Linked DNA regions of Homo sapiens: regions 1, 3 and 4 are each linked to region 2. Evidence: promoter capture Hi-C in 16 types of primary human blood cells and fetal thymus (Javierre and others, 2016). All regions are on one chromosome and are shown on one strand. Each heading gives the region's core, a stretch centred on a gene start or on the middle of the fragment in contact. The rest is flanking DNA. Distances are from core to core; before and after follow the strand shown.

Region 1 (5,413 bases), core at 1,635-4,134, 2.3 Mb after region 2:
TTCCTGGTGATTCTTAACTGCATGATGGACTTCCTTCCCTCTGCTCTCCTGGCGTTCCACTTCCCTCCTACGGTTTTCTTGGAGACCATGTTGACTCAGTCTCGTTCTGGTAATGGGTGGGGCCTGTGGCATCGCATACAGTTCAATTTACTGAAGAACCTCTGCAAAAGACCTAATGACTGAGCTCCAGGAGCAGCCTGGACCAAGACCCCCAAAACAGCTCTTACTCTTTCCTCTTCCTGGTCTCTATGGCTGTAGTTTGGGCAAAATATTCAAGCAGGAGGCAGATTCTGGTAGGGAGCTTTGGGCTTAACCTACCTTAAATAATGGGTAGGTTGGTGTCTTGCTATACTTAATACCAGATGATAAACGGGATAAAAGGTCCTTTCTGGAAACACCTTTCCCTCTCTGAAATTGTCAGCTAAAGTTTATGTTGCTAGGTGTCCCCGTGTAATTTGGGTGGTGCTGCCTGTCTGAAAATTGCTCCTATGTTGTCGTTTTCCCCACAGCCTCACCTAATTTCATCTTCTACGTTGTTTAATTGGAGGACGTAAGTTTGACACTGTGGTTTAGGTAGTATTTAGGATTGCCATGGGCTGGGCGCGGTGGTTCATGCCTGTAATCCCAACACTTTGCGGGGCTGAGGTGAGAGGATCGCTTGAGTCCAGGAGTTCAAGACCAGCCACCCAGGCAACATAGTGAGACCCCGTCTGTGCAAGAAATAAAAATAAACTAGCCCAGCCTGGTGGCGCTTGCCTGTGGTCCCAGCTACTCAGGAGGCTGAGGTGGGAGGATTGCTTGAGCCCAGGAAGTTGAGGCTGCAGTGAGCCTTGATCACACCACTGCACTCCAGCCTGGGTGACAGACACCCTGTCTCAAAAAGTAAAAAATTAAAAAACAGTGGCAGTATTGTAGCTGCTATGCTATGAGTAGACTTTGCATCTACTGAGCTGGGTTTGAATCCTAGTTGTGCTGTTTGACTTAAGGCACATCTTACCTTCTCAACATGTTTTTTTTTTTTTTTTGAGATGTATTTTTTTCAGTGGGTTTTTGGGGAACAGTTGGTATTTGGCTATGTGAATAAGTTCTTTAGTAGTGATTTCTGAGATTTGGTGCCCATCACCCAAGCAGTGTACACTGTACCCAATGTGTAGTCTCTTATCCCTCACCCTGCTCCCACCCTTTCCCCCTCAACCTGTGTCTTCATCTGTACGTTAGGGATTATAACACCTATGCTGTGTGGCTATTATGAAAGCCTAAGGATCAAATAGGTGTTCAGTTCTTTGTACAGTGCTGAGCACATGGGTGATTTTTTTTTTCTTCTTAAGACAGGGTCTCACCGGGCGCGGTGGCTCATGCTTGTATTCCCAGCACTCTGGGAGGCTGAGGTGGGCGGATCACCTGAGGTCAGGAGTTCAAGACCAGCCTGACCAACATGGTGAAACTCCGTCTCTACTAAAAATACAAAAACCAGCTGGGTGTGGTGGGAGGTGCCTGTAATCCTAGCTACTCAGGAGGGTGAGGCAGGAGAATTGCTTGAACCCGGGAGGTGGAGGTTGCGGTGAGCTGAGATTGCACCATTGCACTCCAGCCTGGGCAACAAGAGTGAAACTCCATCTCAAAAAAAAAAAAAAAAAAAAATGGGCGTCTCACTCTGTCATCCAGGCTAGAGTGCAGTGGCACCACCACAGCTCACAGCTACCTCGACCTCCTGGGCTCAAGCGATCCTCACACCTCAGCCTCCTGAATAGCTGGGACTACAGGTGTGTGCCGCCACACCTGGCTATTTTTGTATTTTTTGTGGAGATGAGGTTTTCACCATGTTGCCCAGGGTGGTCTCAAACTCCTGGGCTCAAGCAATCCTCCTGCCTTGGCTTCCTAAAGTGCTGGGAATATAGGTGTGAGCCACTGCACCTAGCTGGGTGATTATTAATAATCATGATTGTTAATTATGTTCATGATTACAGGCGCGGTGGCTCACGCCTGTACTCCCAGCACTTTGGGAGGCCGAGGTGGGCGAATCACCTGAGGTCAGGAGTTCAAGACCTGCCTGACTAACATGGAGAAACCTCATCTCTACCAAAAATACAAAATTAGCTGGGTGTGGTGGTGCGTGCCTGTAATCCCAGCTACTCGGGGGGCTGAGGCAGGAGAATTGCTTGAACCCGGGAGGCGGAGGTTGCAGTGAGCTGAGATCGTGCCATTGCATTCCAGCCTGGGCAACAAGAGCGAAACTCCGTCTCAAAAAAAAAAAAAAAATTATGTTCATGGGAAAGCACTTTTCCTAACAAGCCCTTTTCTCACTACATGTAGCGTTTGTGCTCCCACTTCAGTTACTTGTCTTTAGGCATGACCTTTAATCTCTCTGAACCAGTTTCCTCATTTTAAGAATTGAAATGCTGGCTGGGCCAGTGGCTCACGCCTGTAATCCCAGCACTTTGGGAGGCCAAGGCGAGATGACTGCTTGAGTCCAGGAGTTCGAGACTAGCCTGGGCAACATAGTGAGGCCACCTCCCCGCTGTCTCTATAAAAAAATCTAGAAATTAGTCCCACGTGGTGATGTGCGCCTGTAGTCCCAGCTGCTTGGGAGGCTGAGGTGGGGGGATCGCTGAAGCCGGGAGGTCAAGGCTGCAGTGACCCGTGGTCATGCCGCTGCACTCTAGTCTGGGGACACAGTGAGACCCCGTATCAAAAAGAAAAATGCTGCCTATTTCAAGGTTGTAGCAAAGCTAAGTTTGAACAGAGCAAAGGAAGCGCCATAGAAGCTGCACTACTTGCTCATGTCACAGCTGGGGAATGGGGTGGTCGAATGGGGAGGTCCACTGTCGCAATGTTCCAATTCCCGCCCAGAGGGAGGGACCTCCCCTTCGAGGGAGGGCGCCGGAAGTGACGCGAGGCTCTGCGGAGACCAGGAGTCAGACTGTAGGACGACCTCGGGTCCCACGTGTCCCCGGTACTCGCCGGCCGGAGCCCCCGGCTTCCCGGGGCCGGGGGACCTTAGCGGCACCCACACACAGCCTACTTTCCAAGCGGAGCCATGTCTGGTAACGGCAATGCGGCTGCAACGGCGGTGAGTGCTGAGCCGGTGACCAGCACACTTTGGGCTTCTGGACGAGCCGTGCAGCGATTGGCCCCAGGTTGCCATCCTCAGTCGTCTATTGGTCAGAACGGCTATCTTTTTTTTTTTTTTTTTTTTTTTTTTTTTGGTCCGAGTAGCTTTTAAAGGGCCAGTAGCTCGGTTGCCCTCCGGAAGGAATGGGGAAATCAGAGAGCGGTGATACTGGGTTAAGAGTGGAAGGATTGTTTGGAACGGAACTCCGGTCCCTGCGGGCATCTGGGTGGGATTCCCATCAGGCCTGGGATGCACGGCTCTAGATTTAGTGACCCAGACCAAGAACGTTCGTCTACACAGACGGGGTCCTTTCATTCGAGGCTGGGCTGAGGCGGATGCAGATACGGCCCCTTTGGGAAGACACGTTCCACTTTTGATTCATAGGAGAGAGTATCAGCCAAGCCTCCGAACTGCACACAAACGTCTTAGAAGTGCGCCTTCTTTTTGTGTTATAGTGGTCTCCCAGCCACAGCCAACGCTCCAAGTCCCCAGCTGTGACACACCTACTGAATTACTACCGTGGGTGGGAGGCCGCCGTGGGCCTTTCCATTACGAGCCTGCTTGCCGAGCCCTGGGCTTGTGCACAGACAAACTGCAGAGCTGGTGGAGGCCACTGCCAGGCCGAGATAAGAAAGAGATGGGGAGCTGCTAATCTCCCCCTGTCCAGCCTGTTGGTGAGGGCTGGGATCTTTGCTCTTGCAGTCATTCCAGAGCCCTGGACTAGGAGTAGGAAGATCTGAATTGTGGCCCCAACTCTCTTTCGGTTATTAGCTCTGTGACCCTAGGCAAGTCACCTCATCCCTTGATGCCACCCGTTGCTTCTGTAACATGGTCCCAAAGGTGCCTGTCTTGTCCACCTGATAGGATTTTTGAGACGACAACAATATGCAAAAGCAATAGCTTCAACATAGAAGTGCTCAGTGTTTTATTTTTTAATGAAACGGTTTGACTTGGATATGCTGTGCACATTCAATGAACTTAAGGAATTGTTTGAACCTAGTAGTTCTGGGACCTTAGAGTCCTTTCTGTGGGCTCCCTGTGGCCCAGAATTTTGGTGGCCACGTTTAATATCAAGCCTAGCCTAATTTGCAAAGGGTCTCCCAGGGTTAATTTATTGGAGTGATCACATGGAGTAGACCAGAGTCTGAGGGCAGAAAGCTGTCACCTGCTTCGGCAATAGAGGCCCCAGATGTCTGGGTGCAAAAGAACTCCATAGCACCCCGACCAACATGGTGAAACCCCGTCTCTACTAAAAATATAAAAATTAGGCCGGGCACAGTGGCTCATGCCTGTAATCCTAGCACTTTGGGAGGCCGAGGCAGGTGGATTGCCTGAGCTCAGGAGTTCGAGACCAGCCTAGGGAACACAGTGAAACCCCGTTTCTACTAAAAATACAAAAAATTAGCCGACGTGGTGGCATGCGCCTGTAGTCCCAGCTACTTGGGAGGCTAAGACAGGAGAATCGCTTGAACCTGGGAGGTGGAGGTTGCACTGAGCCGAGACCGCGCCATTGCACTCCAGCCTGGGTGACAGAGCGCGACTCCCCCTCAAAAAAAGAAAAAAAAAAAAAATATATATATATATATACACACACACACATATTTTAGCTGGGCATGGTGGTGTGCGTCTGTAGTAGTCCCAGCTACTTGGGAGGCTGAGTCAGGAGAATCGCTTGAACCTGGAAGGCAGTGGTTGTAGTTAGCTGAGAACATGCCACTGCACTCCAGCCTGGGCAACAGAGGGAGACTCTGTCTCAAAAAAAAAAAAAAAAGGAACTACATAGGATGAACATCCCAGATCAGGGAATGTTGACTGTCGACAGTATCAGTATCTACAGTGGCTACTGTCTGATGTAGAAAGAAATGGGATCAGGCTAGGCGTGGTGGCTCACGCCTGTAATCCCAGCACTTTGGGAGGCTGGGGCAGGAGGATCACAAGTTCGAGACCAGCCTGGCCAACACAGTGAAACCCCGTCTCTACTAAAAATGTGAAAATTAGCTGGGCATGGTGGAACATGCCTGTAGTTCCAGCTTGAACCCAGGGGTGGAGGTTGTAGTGAGCCTAGATCACGCCACTGCACTCCAGCCTGAGCAAAACAGTGAGACTCTGTCTAAAAAAAAAAAAAAAAAAAGAGAGAAATGGGACCTCCGTCTTAGACTGAAGAATTCAGTTCTACGTGCTTAGCAGTGAATACTTTTGTCCAAGGTACTCTGGCAGGAGGAAGAGGCGTGTCCTCTTGAGTTCTTGACTTGGGCTCTGGCCTGTTAATATTTCCATGTTGGTGAAACCAGAGGCAGCACT
Region 2 (5,334 bases), core at 2,737-5,236:
TGAGACTCCGTCTCAAAAAAAAAAAAAAAAAAAGAATTTTGCTGGGAATTAATATTAAATACTCACTGGAATCCATCTTTACCAACTTTAGTGGAATTCAGCCTATCTACAGCTCTCCTTTCCACTTTGTTTCTCAGAAATTCTCAGCAATGGTTTCATGAACCACTGGGAGGTCATTTGCCTATGATTTTGTCCACCTGGCTCTTACTTACCCTTCAAAACTCAGTATTTACATCTTTCAGGATATCTCCCAACAGAATACAAAGTATGCTACCTCCCCGGGCTCTAATGGTACTTGGTACGTATGTGAAACATCCCCAACATTTACCATACTGTTGAAATTTATCTGAAATTCAGTTTTTCATTCTAGGGTATAATCTCTAAAATACAGCTATGTTCTATTAATCTACATATCTCCAGTACTTAGGCAAGAATATACAATTTGAAAGCTTAGTTAAAGCACTGAAAAAAGGAGCAAATAAAAAGTTCCCTATAACTGAACCTCAGCATTGTTTTTAAGAAAGATTCCAACAAAATGAACCACAGCTAAGTCTCATCATTACTCTAACACTGATGTCGAGAAGTCCTCTCTCTGTGATCCATCTCATTTCTAGGCTGATGGACCCTCCATAAAGAGACAAGTTGGTGTATAGGCATCAGCAAAGAAAACTATTTTAAACAGCTCTTTGGAAACTGTCACCTCTTTTCTGTTCTCAACTAACCCCCCTACAAATCTACCCTAAGCTGGAAAAATAAATTTGAGAAGCTTGGCCTGGCACAATGGCTCACGCCTGTAATCCCAGCACTTTGGGAGGCCAAGGTGGGTGGATCACCTGAGGTCATGAGTTCAAGACCAGCCTGGCCAACATGGTGAAACCCCATTTCTACAAAAATTAAAAAAAAAAAATTAGCCAGGCATGATGGCGGGTGCCTGTAATCCCAGCTACTCAGGAGGCTGAGGCAGGAGAATCATCTGAACCCGGGAGGCGGAGGTTGCAGTGAGCCAAGATCATGCCATTGCACTCCAGCTTGGGTGACAGAGCGAGACTCCGTCTCAAAAAAAAAAAAAAAAAGGAAATTGAGAAGCTTGCTTCATTTCAAAATCCTGACAGCCCCAAAGATACATACCACAGGCAAATCTCCATCATCTTCCTCTTCCTCCTTTTCTAGTTTGGTTGTGGAGATAGCTGTCCAGCTCACATCATCATCCACAATCCGCATTCTAAATGAGAATAAGAAGATCAAAAAGAGTCATTCTAGGATACCAGCATAAAAACATTTATCTATTGGTTTTAAAATAAAGTTCAAAATCCTACAGGATCCTGCATGGTCCAGTCTTTGTCTACAAGGTCAACTTCATCTCCTACTGCTACTTCCTTGGTTGAACACCTCCCTGGTCATCCTTTGGTGCTTAGAAAGGAGCCAAGTTCCTATCACATCAGTTTTCACATATGCAGTTCCTTCCCTCTGCCTGATCTACTCTTTTCAATCTTTTTCTTTTTTTTTTTTTTTGAGACGGAGTCTCGCTCTGTTGCCCAGGCTGGAGTGCAGTGGCACGATCTCAGCTCACTGCAAGCTCTGCCTCCCGGGTTCACACCATTCTCCTGCCTCAGCCTCCTGAGTAGCTGGGACTACAGGCGACCACTGCCACGCCTGGCTAATTTTTTGTATTTTTAGTAGAGACGGGGTTTCACCGTGTTAGTCAGGATGGTCTCGATCTCCTGACCTCGTGATCCGCCCGCCTTGGCCTCCCAAAGTGCTGGGATTATAGGCGTGAGCCACCGCGCCCGGCCCTAGTCTTTTTCTTTTTTGAGACAGGGTCTCACACTGCTGCCCAGGCTGGAGTGCAGGGACACCATCATGGCTCCCTGCAGCCTTGACTTCCCGGGGTTAAGTTATTCTCCCTACTCAGTCTCCCAAGTAGCTGGGACTACAGGCATGTGCCACTGTGCCTGACTACTTTTTTGTATTTTTTGTAGAAACAGGGTTTCACCATGTTGCCCAGACTGGTCTCAAACTCCTAGATGCAAGCAATCCACCCGCCTTGGCCTCCCAAAGTGCTAGGAAACTCTTTCTCATTCCAGGAAACTCTTCCTCATTCTTCAGGTCCTAACACAAATTTAACTTCCTTTGGCAAACTTTTCTTGACTGCTTCACCCAATTCCCTCACCATCCCACACTCACTCAAGACTAAGAACCCTTGTTAAAAACTCTTGGAATACTTTCATTGCATTTATCATAAAGAAAATATATCGATTAGTTGTGTAATTAGTTGCTTAAAGCCTGTATTCCCATTAATCTATAAGCTCCACAAGAACAGGGACTATGTTTTTTTTGTTCACAGAGGCATCCTCAACACCCTACAGTAACTGGAATACGAAATATTCAATAAATGTTTGTTACGTGGATAAACTATATAGCTGAGCCCAAATAATAACAATGACTGCCATGATGTGAAGTTATTCAAAAAGCCAGGGTCACTTAATGCAATCCCTCTAATCACAACCACCACTTAATAAAACCATTATTATTATTATTCTCATTTTAAAGATAAGGAAACTGCAGCTCAGTGAGATGAAACACCTTGCCCAAGGGTACACAGCCTATAAAGTGGCACAGCTAGGATTCGAACTCTGACCAGTGCTGCTCCAACACTCAAGCTACTTTCATCACATGGCACTGCCTCCAAAGGATCCACACAAGTCAGCGAGGCAGAAAGACGAAGACAATAATAAGGCAAGCACCAAACCAGAAAAGAACTTGGACTAGTTCTTTAGAACAATGTGACTTCACTGGGTATCTCAGTGCCTTAGGGTTACTGTAACAAAGTACCACAAATTGCGTGGCATAAAACAACAGAAACTCTCTCGCAGTTCTGGAAGCTAGCAATCTGAAATCCAGGTGTCTGCAAGGCCATCCTCCCTGGAAAGTCTCTAGCAGAGAATCTTTCCTTGCCTCTCCCAGCTTCTGGTAGCCCCAAGCATACCTTGGCTTTTGGCAACATAAATCCAATCCAATCTCAGCCTTCATCTAGACATGGTCGTTTTTCCTTTGTTGCTGTGTCTGTATCCATACTTCCCTCTTTTTAAAAGGCAAACAGTCATCTTGGATTTGGCACCCACCTTAATCAAGTATGACCTCATCTTAACTGATTACATCTCCAAAGACCCTATTTCTAAATGTCACATTCTGTGGTTCTGGGTGGAAAACGATTTGGTAGGGCCCACTACACTGGGCCACAAAGTTGTCCCATATGAAAATAATACCCACTTCATGGTAGTGTGGTGAGGCTTAAATAAACTTATATATGTTTAAATTTCTTATAATGGTGCCTGGCAAGAAAAGTATAACTATATAAATGTTAGCTTCTCACGTTAGGACTATTACTAAGAGTAACAGGAGGTGATCAAAGGTCTCTGATTCAGAACCAAGTCCTTGGGATCTGGGAATCCCCACAGGCAGGTACCGGGCCCTAAAGATCCAAGCACAGAGGCTTTGAATCCGCTCCATTATTCTCGAGGCACAATATTCATTCTCTATGGGAGAGGACGGAAGTCTACCAAGGCGGGAAAAGAGTAATCAAAGTTACACCCCGGCTTTAACGCACTGACGCTACTGCTCAGAGGCTCGAGATGTAAGCGGGGCGGCAGAGGCAAGGCGGGGGGCCTCAAGCGATGTGAGTGGGGCCCTGAGCATGAGCAGGGGTCGGCGGAGAAGCCGAGAGACCCGCCAAGAGGGAAGGAACTGCCGGGCGGCCGAGGGCGGAGTTGGGAAGGGGTGGCTAGACGTCGCAGGCCCCGCCCCGGCCGGTACCAACTCACCCCTTGCCGCCGGCCCCGCCAGGCTTCGGCCGCTTTTTGCGACGCTTGCGACCGGACTCAGATCCCCGGTCGACGCCGGCATCTGCCCCGGACAAGTAACGCTTCAGATACTCGGCCTTGGAAAGCGGCGGAGCTGCCGCCATGGCAGCGGCGGGGGCAGAGAGACGGGTCGGCGCTGGGGACAAAATGCCTCAACGCGTAACGGACGCCAGCCACCCGACAGGGCGGGGCCACGGCCGGAAGTGGCGGAGAGTGCTAAGAATCGCGCGGCTGGCAGGTGCGGCCACCGGGACGCGCTCGCAGGCTAGCCAGGGACGTGCGCACCTTCGGGGCGCTCCACAGCCCTGGGACGACGCCACCAGGTTTCTTCTCTTCATTCACTCACCCACCCACCCACCCATCCATCCAACCGCAGCAAGCGCTGTTCTATGAGGCCACAACCTGACCCAAAGGACCCCGCCCCCATCGGCCGCCTAAACTCCAGAGCACGAGCAAGAAAGTGGAGGGCCACGGGCTGCAGCGTAGCCGAGTTTGAATACTGGTTCCATAGCTGGCTAGCTGTACGACCTCGGGCAAGTTATCACAAAACAGGGAGAATCCCGGCACCTAACTCGGAACGGTCACAGGCTGAGATGATATTACTGTGTGAAGTGCGCAGAGCGGTGTTGGGCACATGGTCATCGGAACTATGTTCGTTATTTTTATAAGTATCTTTAAGTGGGGGGAATCTGCTCCACTAGGCTTCCAGGTACCTACCGTCCAAGAAAGGAAGCCAGGAAGTGCAAACCAACATAATTACTATGAAAAACGTAGTTTCTAAGACCTGTGTAACTCTTCTAGTGTTCTATTACAAGTAGCCCCCAGTTATCTCTTGAAGGAAACTGTAAAACAATCTTGCCAATGAGAAGGACGGACCTGGATCATTTTTTAGCATAGTAAAAGAGAGAAACCAGAGAGAATGAATTCTAACACTCAAGTTTTGGGGGGAAAGAAAAGACTTTATTCTTTGCAGGGGGTTTAGAGCTTTACCTGAATTATCTCATTTAACCCTCACAATTCTCAAATCGTTTCATTATCATATTTTACAGATAAGAACTGAAGCGTGGCAAGATTAAGGAAGTTGCTCAACTTCACATAGTCAGAACATGACTCTAGGGAGTAGAGGCTAGCGAAGTGGGGTGCAAGAGGTCATCCAAATTTCTTGAAATACCAGATCTTTTTACCTCATCATATATGTTAGATTGTCAGTTTTATCGTTTTCTTCCCAGCTTTATTATTTGACAAAAAATTATATATATTCAAGGTGTACAATGTGATGACTGGATATAATTATACATTGTGTAATGATTACCAAAATCAAATTAAGTAAAACATCCTTCACTAATTTATGTAGTAGTTCGGTGGGGGGGCACTTAAGCAAATTTGTCTTAGCAAACTTCAAGTAAACAATACAGAATTATTAGCTATAGTCAACATGTTGTACATTAGATTCCCAGAACTTGTCTTAAAACTG
Region 3 (5,438 bases), core at 640-3,139, 2.5 Mb after region 2:
GGTTCTTTCTAAATGTATTTTAATATTCATGTTAATTATACATCTTGTATGGTGAATTTGGTGCATTTAAAATAAAAATAATTTTATGTGTTTAATTATTGCATTCTGATCATTTGTAGGCGAAACCTAACCAAACTGTCCCTCATCTTCAGCCACATGCTGGCAGAACTAAAAGGAATCTTTCCAAGTGGACTCTTTCAGGGAGACACATTTCGGATTACTAAAGCAGATGCTGCGGAATTTTGGAGAAAAGCTTTTGGGGAAAAGTAAGTCTCAGAATAATGAATTTGAACTATGAAAAACTAAAGCTTACGAGTTTTTTCTTTACTTTTTTACTAATGAAATATTTAAAATTTGGGAACTCTGAGAAAAGTAATATATGTGTATGTATTTCCTGGCTTTGGTTAAATATTAAGTTTTTGCTCTGTTCATTGTTTTTAAAAAATAGTTTTGCAGATTAAATTGAAACCCATGCTCTTTGAATACTCTTCCCTTTCTCTCCCCATCCATTGTGGTTTCTTTTTGAGACGGAGTCTTGCTCTGTTGCCCAGGCTGGAGTGCAGTGGTGCGATCTCCACTTACTGCAAGCTCTGCCTCCTGGGTTCATGCCATTCTCCTGCCTCAGCCTCCTGAGTCGCTGGGACTATAGGTGCCTGCCACCACGCCCGGCTAATTTTTTGCATTTTTAATAGAGACAGGGTTTCACCACGTCAGCCAGGATGGTCTCGACTTCTGACCTCGTGATCCACCTGCTTCGGCATCCCAAAGTGCTGGGATTACAGGCGTGAGCCACCATGCCCAGCCCCATTCTGCTCTTAATGGACATGTACATTTCACATTATTTGCTATCAGCAGTGAGCAATATCTAAGTTGTCTTCATATGCAAGAAATTGTCTTTATTTACATACGCAGGAGTGGAATTGCTAAGTCTTGGGGTTTTACATCTTTTGCTTTGCTAAGTATTGTCCAATTTCTTTCCAAAATGGTGTACCAGTTCATATTTTACAGTAGCCCCACAGTTTGGCTAACGCTGGCGATGTGAATTGGTGTAATATTTTGCTTTATATTCCCTGATGAGAAGGGAGATTGAGCTTCTTCTCACCTTTATGACCAGTCAAGATTCTTATTCTTACTTGCCTGTTCCTATTTCTGATTTACCCATTTTCTTATTGAGTGGTTTATCTTTCTGTTATTATAGGTTACTAGTTCTTTGTTAGATACTTACATTACAAATATCTTCTCCCAGTCTGTGGCTTACCTTTTCCGTTTTGCTGTATTGTCTCTCTATATATTATATAGGTTGATTTATGCATCAAGCTTGTATTTTTAAGTATAAATATAAATATCCTAGGTTTTGTCGTTTTATTTTTTTTTTTTTTTGAGACAGGATGTCACTCTCTTGCCTAGTCTGGTGTGCAGTGGTACAATCAATCATAGCTCATCGCAGCCTCAAACTCTTGGATTCAAGCAGTTCTCCCAAGTAGCTGGGACTACACGTGTGTGCTGCCAGGCCCAGCTAATTTGCAGAGACAGGATTTTGCTGTGTTACCCAGGCTGGTCTCGAAGTCCTGGCCTCAAATAATCTTTCCCCCTGGCCTCTCAAAGTACTAGGATTACAAGCGTGAGCCACTGTGTTAGGCCCAAGTTTCTCTTTAAAGGCCTTCATTTTTGGCCAGGCACAGTGGCTCACTCCTGTAGTCCCAGCACTTTAGGTGGCCAAGGCAGGAGGATTTCTTGAGGCCAGAAGTTTGAGACTACTACCCTGGATGACATTACAAGACCTGGTCTTTATTTGTAAATTATTTTTTATTTTTCTTTTCTTGTTTTGCAGCAAGGTTTCACTCTGTTGCCCAGGCTGTAGTGCAGTGGCACGATCTCACTTGCAACCTCTGCCTCCAAAGTTCAAGTGATTTTCCCCCCTCAGCCTCCAGAGTAGCTGGAACTAATTAGTCTGGCTAATTTTGTTTGTTTGTTTGTTTTTGTAGAGACAAAGTTTCACCATATTGCCCAGTCTGGGCTCAAGCAGTCTGCCCACTTTGGCCTCTCAAAGTGCTGGGCCTCCCAAAGGCATGCACCATGGCTCCTGGTCCCCTTCTTTCTTTTCTTAAAGAAGTTGACCTGTATTTTGAATTACGAGAATTGAAATTGGTATTGAGAGCTTAATGTGGCTCTCCTTCCTTTCCTTGATTATGGCGATGCCTGGAATTATCTCTGTTATTTCACTTTATGCCTCCTCTCCACCCCCTCCCCAGGACAATAGTCCCTTGGAAGAGCTTTCGACAGGCTCTACATGAAGTGCATCCCATCAGTTCTGGGCTGGAGGCCATGGCTCTGAAATCCACTATTGATCTGACCTGCAATGATTATATTTCGGTTTTTGAATTTGACATCTTTACCCGACTCTTTCAGGTAGGACACTAAAAAAGTTGACTAAACTGGTTACTGCTACTTCGGTGAAGAGAAAGCTTTTTTTTTTTTTTTTTAAATAACATTTGGGGTTTTTGTCTGTATGAAAGTATTTTAATTCATTTTAGGAACTATGCCAAAAAAAAGATTAAAACTATCTCATATTAAAAATATATGTATGTGTGTGTATGTATATATAGTGAAAATGACAGCTATACCAACTGCTTTCTTCTCCTCACATCTTTCCTTGTTATTGAATATTCTTCTTTTGTATCATTTTAATGTTTGTAGAATGGCCAGAATATGAATATATTAGTTTTCTGATATTGGATATTTGTGTATGTTTGCAACTGTTTCTCCTGTTTTATTGAAATTGACTGTTAATATTGAGATGTTTAGATGCTTCAAAAACAACTCCTTTCTTTTTCTCTAAAAATAATGCTTTCTCTGGTGTTGTCTGTGCCAATTTGCATACACATTTATTTGGAACTTATTAGTTGCACCTATAGGCCCTATCCTGGTTTTCAGTTTGTTGTTGTTCAACCCCACTACTGTTAATTAGAGCTGCTTTACAAATTCTAGAATTTTCATTTTGTGTCAAGTTTCTCCCTATAAGCATATATTCTTTTCTTCGTAGCTTTTCAGAGTTTTTAATCTCCTGAACACATGTGTCTTCTCTCTGAGTGATGGTATAATTAAAAATTTCTGACAATGAACTGAGAGTTGGTGTTGTTTTTTTTTTTTCTCATTGCCCTCTGAGTTGGTTGTACATCTGACCTGAATAGTCTGTGATTGATCTTGTTTCTTTAGCCCTGGTCCTCTTTGCTCAGGAATTGGAACAGCCTTGCTGTAACTCATCCTGGCTACATGGCTTTTTTGACGTATGACGAAGTGAAAGCTCGGCTCCAGAAATTCATTCACAAACCTGGCAGGTCAGTTCAATGACGCAAAGAGATTTATTCTTCTGAATTTCGTTATCTTGAGACTTCTGCTAGTATAGAAGAAACATGACCTTAATTAGTTTCGCAATAGCCAAGGTTCTGCAATAGGATTGATACCTGTTTATCAGACGTATTGACTTAATTCAGATCCTATAATTTGATAAATGTTTTCAGGCCACTTAAGAATTGAATTTATGGCCGGGCACAGTGGCTCACGCCTGTCATCCCAGCACTTTGGGAGGCCGAGGCGGGCAGATCACGAGGTCAGGAGTTTGAGACCAGCCTGGCCAAAGTGGTAAAACCCTGTCTCTACTAAAAATACAAAAATTATCCAGGTGTGGTGCGGGTGCCTGTAATCCCAGCTACTCAGGAGGCTGAGGCAGGAGAATCACTTGAACCTGGGAGGTGGAGGTTGCAGTGAGCCGAGATCATGTCATTGCACTCTAGCCTGGGCAATAAGAGCGAAACCCCATCTCAAAAACAACAAAAACAAAAAAAGAATAGAGTTTATGTGTCTTTTGCTTCTGGTGTGGAGTCATGGAAGAAGTTACTCTCTTTTTAAAAATATTTTCTTTCTTTTTTCTTGTCACTGACTTGAAGCTCAGAAGTAGTTATTCTTGGCTGGGTGTGGTGGCTCACACCTGTAATCCCAGCACTTTGGGAGGCCAAGGTGGGCAGATACTTGAGATCAGAAGTTTAAGACTGGCCTGGCCAACATGGCGAAACCCCATCTCTACTAAAAATACAAAAATTAGCCAGGTGTGGTGGCACATACTGTAGTCCCAGCTACTCAGGAGGCTGAGGCAGGAGAATCATTTGAACCCAGGAGGTGGAGGCTGCAGTGAGCTGAGATTGTGCCACTGCACTCTAGCCTGGGTGACAGAGCCAGACTCCATCTTAAAAAAAGAAAGAAAGAAAGGAAGAAAGTTATTGTTATTCTTGATGGTTCTTTTGATTTTTGTCTGTATCTTGCCTTGCCTTCCACCGTAATACCAGCATAATCTACTAAAGCTTCTGTTTATGTCTGTTCATAGTTATATCTTCCGGCTGAGCTGTACTCGTCTGGGTCAGTGGGCTATTGGGTATGTTACTGCTGATGGGAACATTCTCCAGACAATCCCTCACAATAAACCTCTCTTCCAAGCACTGATTGATGGCTTCAGGGAAGGCTTGTGAGTACCTACTGCATACCATCTGTTAGAGTCTGGGAACTTAGGGGCTGTCCAACCTCATCATTAATGACTTTATTCCAGGTTTCTTAAACTGCAGACTAAGATTCAGGAAAATATTAACAGATGATATTGATTTGACCTTCAGGTCCTGGAAGACTTTTGTTTTTCTTTTTTAGGGATTCCATGAGTGAAATTATTCTCTACCACTTCAGTTATTACCATAAATAAACTTTATCTTTCTTTTTTCCAAATGTTAACTTATTTTCAAGCCTGTGTTAGGTTTTAAAATATACCAATTAGCAGGAAATTTGACCAGTTATTTAACTAGTCGGCATTCAAGTGATTCAATGTTCCTAATAGCCATAGGCCTCAGTGGCCTTCATCTGCTTTCATCCTCACTTCGCTTTTGTTCAGCAGCATTTCTTCAGGCCTTGGGCTACTGTAACCTATGCTGCTATTTATAACTAAGTCCTTATTTATTCCAGAATTGCTATTCCTTTGAGAATTCAAATTAATTATCAGTTGGTAAACACTTAAAAATACTAACAGTTGACCAGATGGCAGAAAACTAGCTTGTGTTTTGAAGTGATTAGGAAAATACATTTTATATTATACATTATCTTTTACTTACAATAGCATTGGGACTGAAAGGAGTGCTGCCCCAAATGTCAGAACAGTTTGATGCTAGAAACTGTGGATCTCCCTGGTAGATGATCTCAGTAGCTTAATTTGCATATTGTTACATTGCTTTTAAATTGGTGTCTCTCATTTTCTTAAACCTGTAAACCTTCTTTGATCAAAAGCAAATGCAGTTTAAACTAAGAAGTTAAGCCGGGTGCAGTGGTTCACACCTGTGATCCCAGCACTTTGGGAGGCCGAGACGGGTGGATCACCTGAGGTCAGGAGTTCAAGACCAGCC
Region 4 (5,167 bases), core at 1,941-4,440, 2.4 Mb after region 2:
GTGGCTACAGTGTGAGTGGGGGTCCTGCTCCTTTGTGTGCTCAACCATGGAAAAGTTCTTTGAGCATGTCACTCAGCACCTGCAGCAGCACCTGCATGGCTCTGGGGAGGAGGAGGAAGAGGAAGAGGAGGATGACCCACTTGGTAAGAGAGCAGGACACAGGAAGGGGAGGAGCTCAAGGAAAGGTGGAAAATCTGACTTTCTTTTCCTTAGAGGGAGAAGGCGGCCTAAGAGAATGGTGGTTTATTTTCCTAATTGTGTTTTTGTTGTATATAAAAACATTGTAAACTCATTTATAGAAAACTCAGTCAACAAGGATATAAGGAATAAATCTGCCATCCTGCCATCAAGAAGTAATTGCTGACAGTACTTTAGTGAACATTGTTTTTGACATCTCTCTGCCTGTGTTTACATATATTTAAATACAGATGAATGTGCTTTTTTTTAATCATTCTGTACAAGTTGTTGGCAACCTGTGTTTTGTTGTTGTGTTTTTTTTTTTTTTTTTTTTACTCTTCTAGTATTCCCAATTTTTTTTTTCTTTTACTGCAACCAGTCAGAAATACATCTTACTTTTTAGAGACAGGGCTTCATCTTGTCACCCAGGTTGGAGTCCAGTGTCATGATCATAGCTCACTGCAGCCTTCAACACTCAAGGGATCCTCCTGCCTCAACCTCCCGAGTAGTTAGGACTGCAGGCATGTACCACCACCACACGCCAATTTTTAAAAAAATTTTTTTTAGAGACAGGATCTTGCTTATGTTGCCCACTGATCTCAAACTCCTGGCCTCGAGCAATCCTCCTACCTTAGCCTCCTAAGTAGCTGGGACTATTGGCTTGTGCCACCAAGTCCAACCCCACTCCCACCTTCCAATTTTTTTTTTTTTTTTTGAGACGGAGTCTTGCTCTGTTGCCAGGTTGGAGTGCAATGGTTCGATCTCGGCTCACTGCAGCCTTTGCCTCCCAGGTTCAAGCAATTCTCCTGCCTCAGCCTCTTGTAGCTGGGACTACAGGCGCGCGCCACCACGCCCAACTAATTTTTGTACTTTTAGTAGAGATGGGGTTTCACCATGTTGGCCAGGATGGTCTCAATCTCTTGATCTCATGATCCGCCCACCTCGGCCTCCCAAAGTGCTGGGATTACAGGCGTGAGCCACCGCACCTGGCCCCATCTCTCACTTTTTAACCTTTGTCTGACTTATGTTTTAGGTATGCCTTTTATCAATAGCAAATAACTGGGATTTTAATAAAATCCAATCTGAAAACAATAACAATAGTGAACTGTATTCTATAGTACCTACTGTGTGTTAAGTATTGCTGGGTACTTTATTTTTTTTTTGAGATGGAGTCTCATTCTTGTTGCCCAGGCTGTAGTGCAGTGGTGCAATCTCGGCTCACTGCAACCTCTGCCTCCTCGGTTCAAGCGATTCTTCTGCCTCAGCCTCCCGAGTAGCTGGGATTACAGGTGCGTGCCACTACGCCCGTCTAATTTTTTTTTGTATTTTTAGTAGAGACAGGCTTTCACCATGTTAGCCAGGATGCCCCTGTTGGCCAGCCTGGTCTTGAACTCCTGACCTCAGGTGATCCGCCCGCCTCAGCCTCCCAAAGTGCTGGGATTATAGACGTGAGCCACCATGCCCGGCCAGTACTTTTTTAAACCTACATTAAAGCACTATTTCCCAAAGAGCCTATGAGATAGGCACTATTATTATTATTATTTATTATTATTATTTTTAGATGGAGTCTTGCTCTGTCGCCAGGCTGGAGTGTGGTGGTGCGATCTCAGCTCACTGCAACCTCCACCTCCCAGGTTCAAGCAATTCTACTGCCTCAGCCTCCCGAGTAGCTGGGATTACAGGCACATGCCACTATGCCCAGCTAATTTTTTTTTGTATTTTTAGTAGAGACGGGGTTTCACTGTGTTAGCCAGGATGGGATAGGCACTATTATTATACCCATTTTACAAATAAGGAAACGGAGGCACAGAGGAATAAAATAACTTGCCCAAAGTCACGGTACTAATAAGTGTGGCAGGATTTAAAAGAAAAAGGAAAAAAAAAACTTTTTTTCAGAGTAAGATGGAGTCTTACTCTGTTGCTCAGGCTAGAGTGCAATGGCATGATCTCGGCTAATTGCAACCTCCGCCTCCCGGGTTCAAGTGATTCTCCTGCTTCAGCCTCCCAAGTAGCTGAGATTACAGGTGCCCGCCACCACGCCCGGGTAATTTTTGTATTTTTAGTAGAGACAGGATTTCACCATATTGGCCAGGCTGGTCCCAAACTCCTGACCTTGTGATCTGCCTGCCTCGGCCTCCCAAAGTGTTGGGATTACAGGCGTGAGCCACTGCGCCCGACCAAAGCCACTTTTTTTTTAGAGACAGAGTCTTGCTATGTTACCAGGTTGATCTTAAACTCTTGGCCTCAAGTGATCCTCCTGCCTCAGCATGCTGAGCAGCTGGGACTATAAGCATAAGCCACTGCATCTGGCAGGAATACATTTTTCTTTTCTTTTTTTTTTTTTTTGTGGGAGTGCAGTGGCTCGATCTCCGCTCACTGCAAGGTCCGCCTCCCGGGTTCATGCCACTCTCCTGCCTCAGCCTCCCAAATAGCTGGGACTACAGGCGCCCACCACCAAGCCCAGCTAATTTTTTTTTGTATTTTTTAGTAGAGACGGGGTTTGACTGTGTTAGCCAGGATGGTCTCGATCTCCTGACCTCGTGATCTGTCTGCCTCGGCCTCCCAAAGTGCTGGGATTACAGGCGTGAGCCACCGCACCCGGCCCAAAATGTGGTTGATAGTTCACTGAACTGATTTCCTAACCCACTAGTGGGTCACAACACAGTCTGAAAAACTCTATTCTACAGGAAATATGGAGGCAGCTCTCCTTCTCCCACCCCAAATTCTGTTTTAAGTCTGATGACTATGAACCATAATTGATAGTTTCAAAATTCAAGTCATATTTATACAAAGGCAAAATTGGGGAATGATTATATTTTCTAAAGTATCTGTGTTTCAAAACAAGTTAACTTATATAAAGCGCTGAAAATACAGTGCTTAGGGATGCTAGAGAGATAGGAAATGGATTGGAAGAGTTGATGGGGCCTTCTTGGAGAAGGCAGATCTTGAGCAAAACATGAGGGGAAGGAGGAGTGGTGGTTTTACAAGGAGAAGTGGGAGGTGTCAGATCGAGAGGCAGCATCTTCATCAGGAACTGCAGAAACTCAAGTCAGAGGACTTGCGTGCCGGCCATTTCTGCTGTCTGTTTCTGGCATAGGCCTTGCACACACTCTCACCTCTGCCTAGACCACACTTCTTCACCTATTTACAGATACTCATCCATCGTACTTCAGAGTTCAACATGGGGACGTTTCTCAGAACACCATGTCAAATGACCTCTGTTTAATGCTTTTATAGCACCATGTATATCCCCGCTTTGTAACACTCATCACTGGTTGCAGTTTTATATTTATAGATCTGATTATTTGATGAATATGCTTTCTCCCTGACTGAAAGCTATGTGAGGGCAAGGAGTGGGACACTTTTTACTTGTTATAGTCCCTCTAACTGGCACACAATTTATGGTCATTAAATACTGGTATTTGCTAAATGAACCCTGGTAATTTGGTTAGAGTCCAGCCTCCTCACGAGTCCAGCCTCCTCACTCTCTGTTTAGTGCTGCAGGTGGAAGGTGACCTGAGCCTTGGAAAGTGTCAGACTCTTCCTTTTAAACCCCTTTCTACAGAGGAAGAATTCTCCTGCTTGTGGCAGGAATGTGGCTTTTGTTCTCTGGACAGTTCTGCTGACCTCATCCGCCATGTCTACTTCCACTGCTACCACACCAAGCTGAAACAGTGGGGGCTGCAGGCCTTGCAAAGCCAGGCTGACCTTGGCCCCTGCATCCTGGACTTCCAGAGCCGGAACGTCATCCCTGATATCCCTGACCACTTCCTGTGTCTGTGGGAGCACTGTGAGGTCAGCAGGCAGTGCCAGTAATTGGGGTGGAAGGAAGCTGGGGGTCTTAACTCTGATGCCTTGTCCCTTTCAGGGATGCCTTATATTTCCAAGATTCCTGCTAGTATCTCTCTTCCATTTCTTTTGCTCTTTTAAAATTTGTTTATTTTTTACACACAGGCTCTTGATCTGAAGCCCAGGCTAGAGTGCAGTGGTACAATCATAGCTCACTGTAACCTTGAACTCCTGGGCTCAAGCAATCCTCCCACCTCAGCCTCCCAAGTAGCTAGGACTACAGGCATGTACCACCATGCCCTGCTAACTTCTAAATTTTTTGTAGAGACAAGGTCTGGGTGTGTTGCCCAGGCCGGTCTCGAACTCTTGGCCTCAAGTGATTCTCCTGCCTCAGCCTCTCAAAGTGCTGGGATTACAGGGTTTAGCAACCGCACCCGGCCACTCCTCCATTTCTGTGCAGTGCCTTTCCTCAAAATTTCCCATCCCCATCAAGTTAATTTGGGAGAGAGCCAAGAATTCTTCGGGCACATAGGGGTGAGTCCCTCTACCCACCCTCAGTCCTCACCCCAAGTTGCCCCTGGCACAGAATTCCTTCGACAATCCTGAGTGGTTTTATCGGCATGTGGAAGCACACAGTCTGTGCTGTGAATACGAAGCAGTCGGCAAGGACAACCCGGTGGTGCTGTGTGGCTGGAAAGGTAGGGCTGCTTCTTAACTTGTGGCTTCTGGAGGAAACGCTGGGGTTCCTGAAGAGCTGGGACAGAAAGGGATAGGGGTCCTACAGGGGCAAGGTTGACTGCCGGCTGGAGAGACTCAGGGGTACCAGATCCTAGGCAAAACTGGGGTTTTGTGGCAGGAGACTGATAGGGCTTCCTTCCCAGGCTGTACCTGCACCTTCAAGGACCGCAGTAAACTTCGAGAGCACCTCCGCAGCCATACCCAGGAGAAAGTGGTAGCCTGCCCCACCTGTGGGGGCATGTTTGCCAACAATACCAAGTTCTTAGATCACATCCGTCGCCAGACCTCATTGGATCGTAAGTAGTCAGAGGAAGTGGGGTGGATGCAGGCTGTCCTGCTTGGAATGGGTTAGGGGCATGTTTCTAGTGGGGGTGGCCACTGAAGAGACCTGCCTTTTGGCTGCCTCTTCTTTTTGGGCTCAGGCACCTCCCATAGTCTCTTTGCTGATTCAGATTCGTAGGCA

The links. The method cuts DNA at HindIII sites, captures the fragments that hold promoters and counts their contacts. A CHiCAGO score of 5 or more calls a contact.
Region 1: a contact is called between the fragment with the promoter of HMBS here and the fragment with the promoter of BUD13 in region 2, in 1 of 17 cell types (monocytes). The highest score is 6.4, in monocytes.
Region 3: a fragment that was not itself captured here is called in contact with the fragment with the promoter of BUD13 in region 2 in 1 of 17 cell types (monocytes); the score reaches 5.6 in monocytes.
Region 4: a contact is called between a fragment that was not itself captured here and the fragment with the promoter of BUD13 in region 2, in 1 of 17 cell types (monocytes). The highest score is 8.3, in monocytes.

The regions. Positions count from the first base shown.
Region 1 is chr11:119,081,997-119,087,409 of GRCh38, forward strand. HMBS (hydroxymethylbilane synthase) reads left to right here and starts at 2,885. Exons shown (of 14, transcript NM_000190.4): 1 at 2,885-3,070. The coding sequence starts at 3,038. RefSeq lists enhancers at 2,486-3,183, 3,113-3,162. The HindIII fragment of the contact is 13,649 bases long and covers 1-5,413 here.
Region 2 is chr11:116,769,001-116,774,334 of GRCh38, forward strand. BUD13 (BUD13 spliceosome associated protein) reads right to left here and starts at 3,987. Exons shown (of 10, transcript NM_032725.4): 1 at 3,822-3,987; 2 at 1,129-1,222. The coding sequence starts at 3,964. ZPR1 (ZPR1 zinc finger) reads right to left here. Exons shown (of 14, transcript NM_003904.5): 14 at 4,799-5,334. BUD13-DT (BUD13 divergent transcript) reads left to right here and starts at 4,471. Exons shown (of 2, transcript NR_186226.1): 1 at 4,471-4,511; 2 at 4,910-5,205. RefSeq lists a silencer at 4,126-4,325 and an enhancer at 4,446-4,535. The HindIII fragment of the contact is 6,866 bases long and covers 1,085-5,334 here.
Region 3 is chr11:119,271,616-119,277,053 of GRCh38, forward strand. CBL (Cbl proto-oncogene) reads left to right here. Exons shown (of 16, transcript NM_005188.4): 3 at 120-266; 4 at 2,253-2,409; 5 at 3,217-3,338; 6 at 4,382-4,519. Among named protein-coding and RNA genes, the nearest start is that of MIR6756, 39 kb to the right of the region's middle. The HindIII fragment of the contact is 1,148 bases long and covers 1,316-2,463 here.
Region 4 is chr11:119,126,983-119,132,149 of GRCh38, forward strand. HINFP (histone H4 transcription factor) reads left to right here. Exons shown (of 10, transcript NM_198971.3): 2 at 1-143; 3 at 3,743-3,972; 4 at 4,553-4,664; 5 at 4,848-5,000. Among named protein-coding and RNA genes, the nearest start is that of HINFP, 8.0 kb to the left of the region's middle. The HindIII fragment of the contact is 7,014 bases long and covers 1-5,167 here.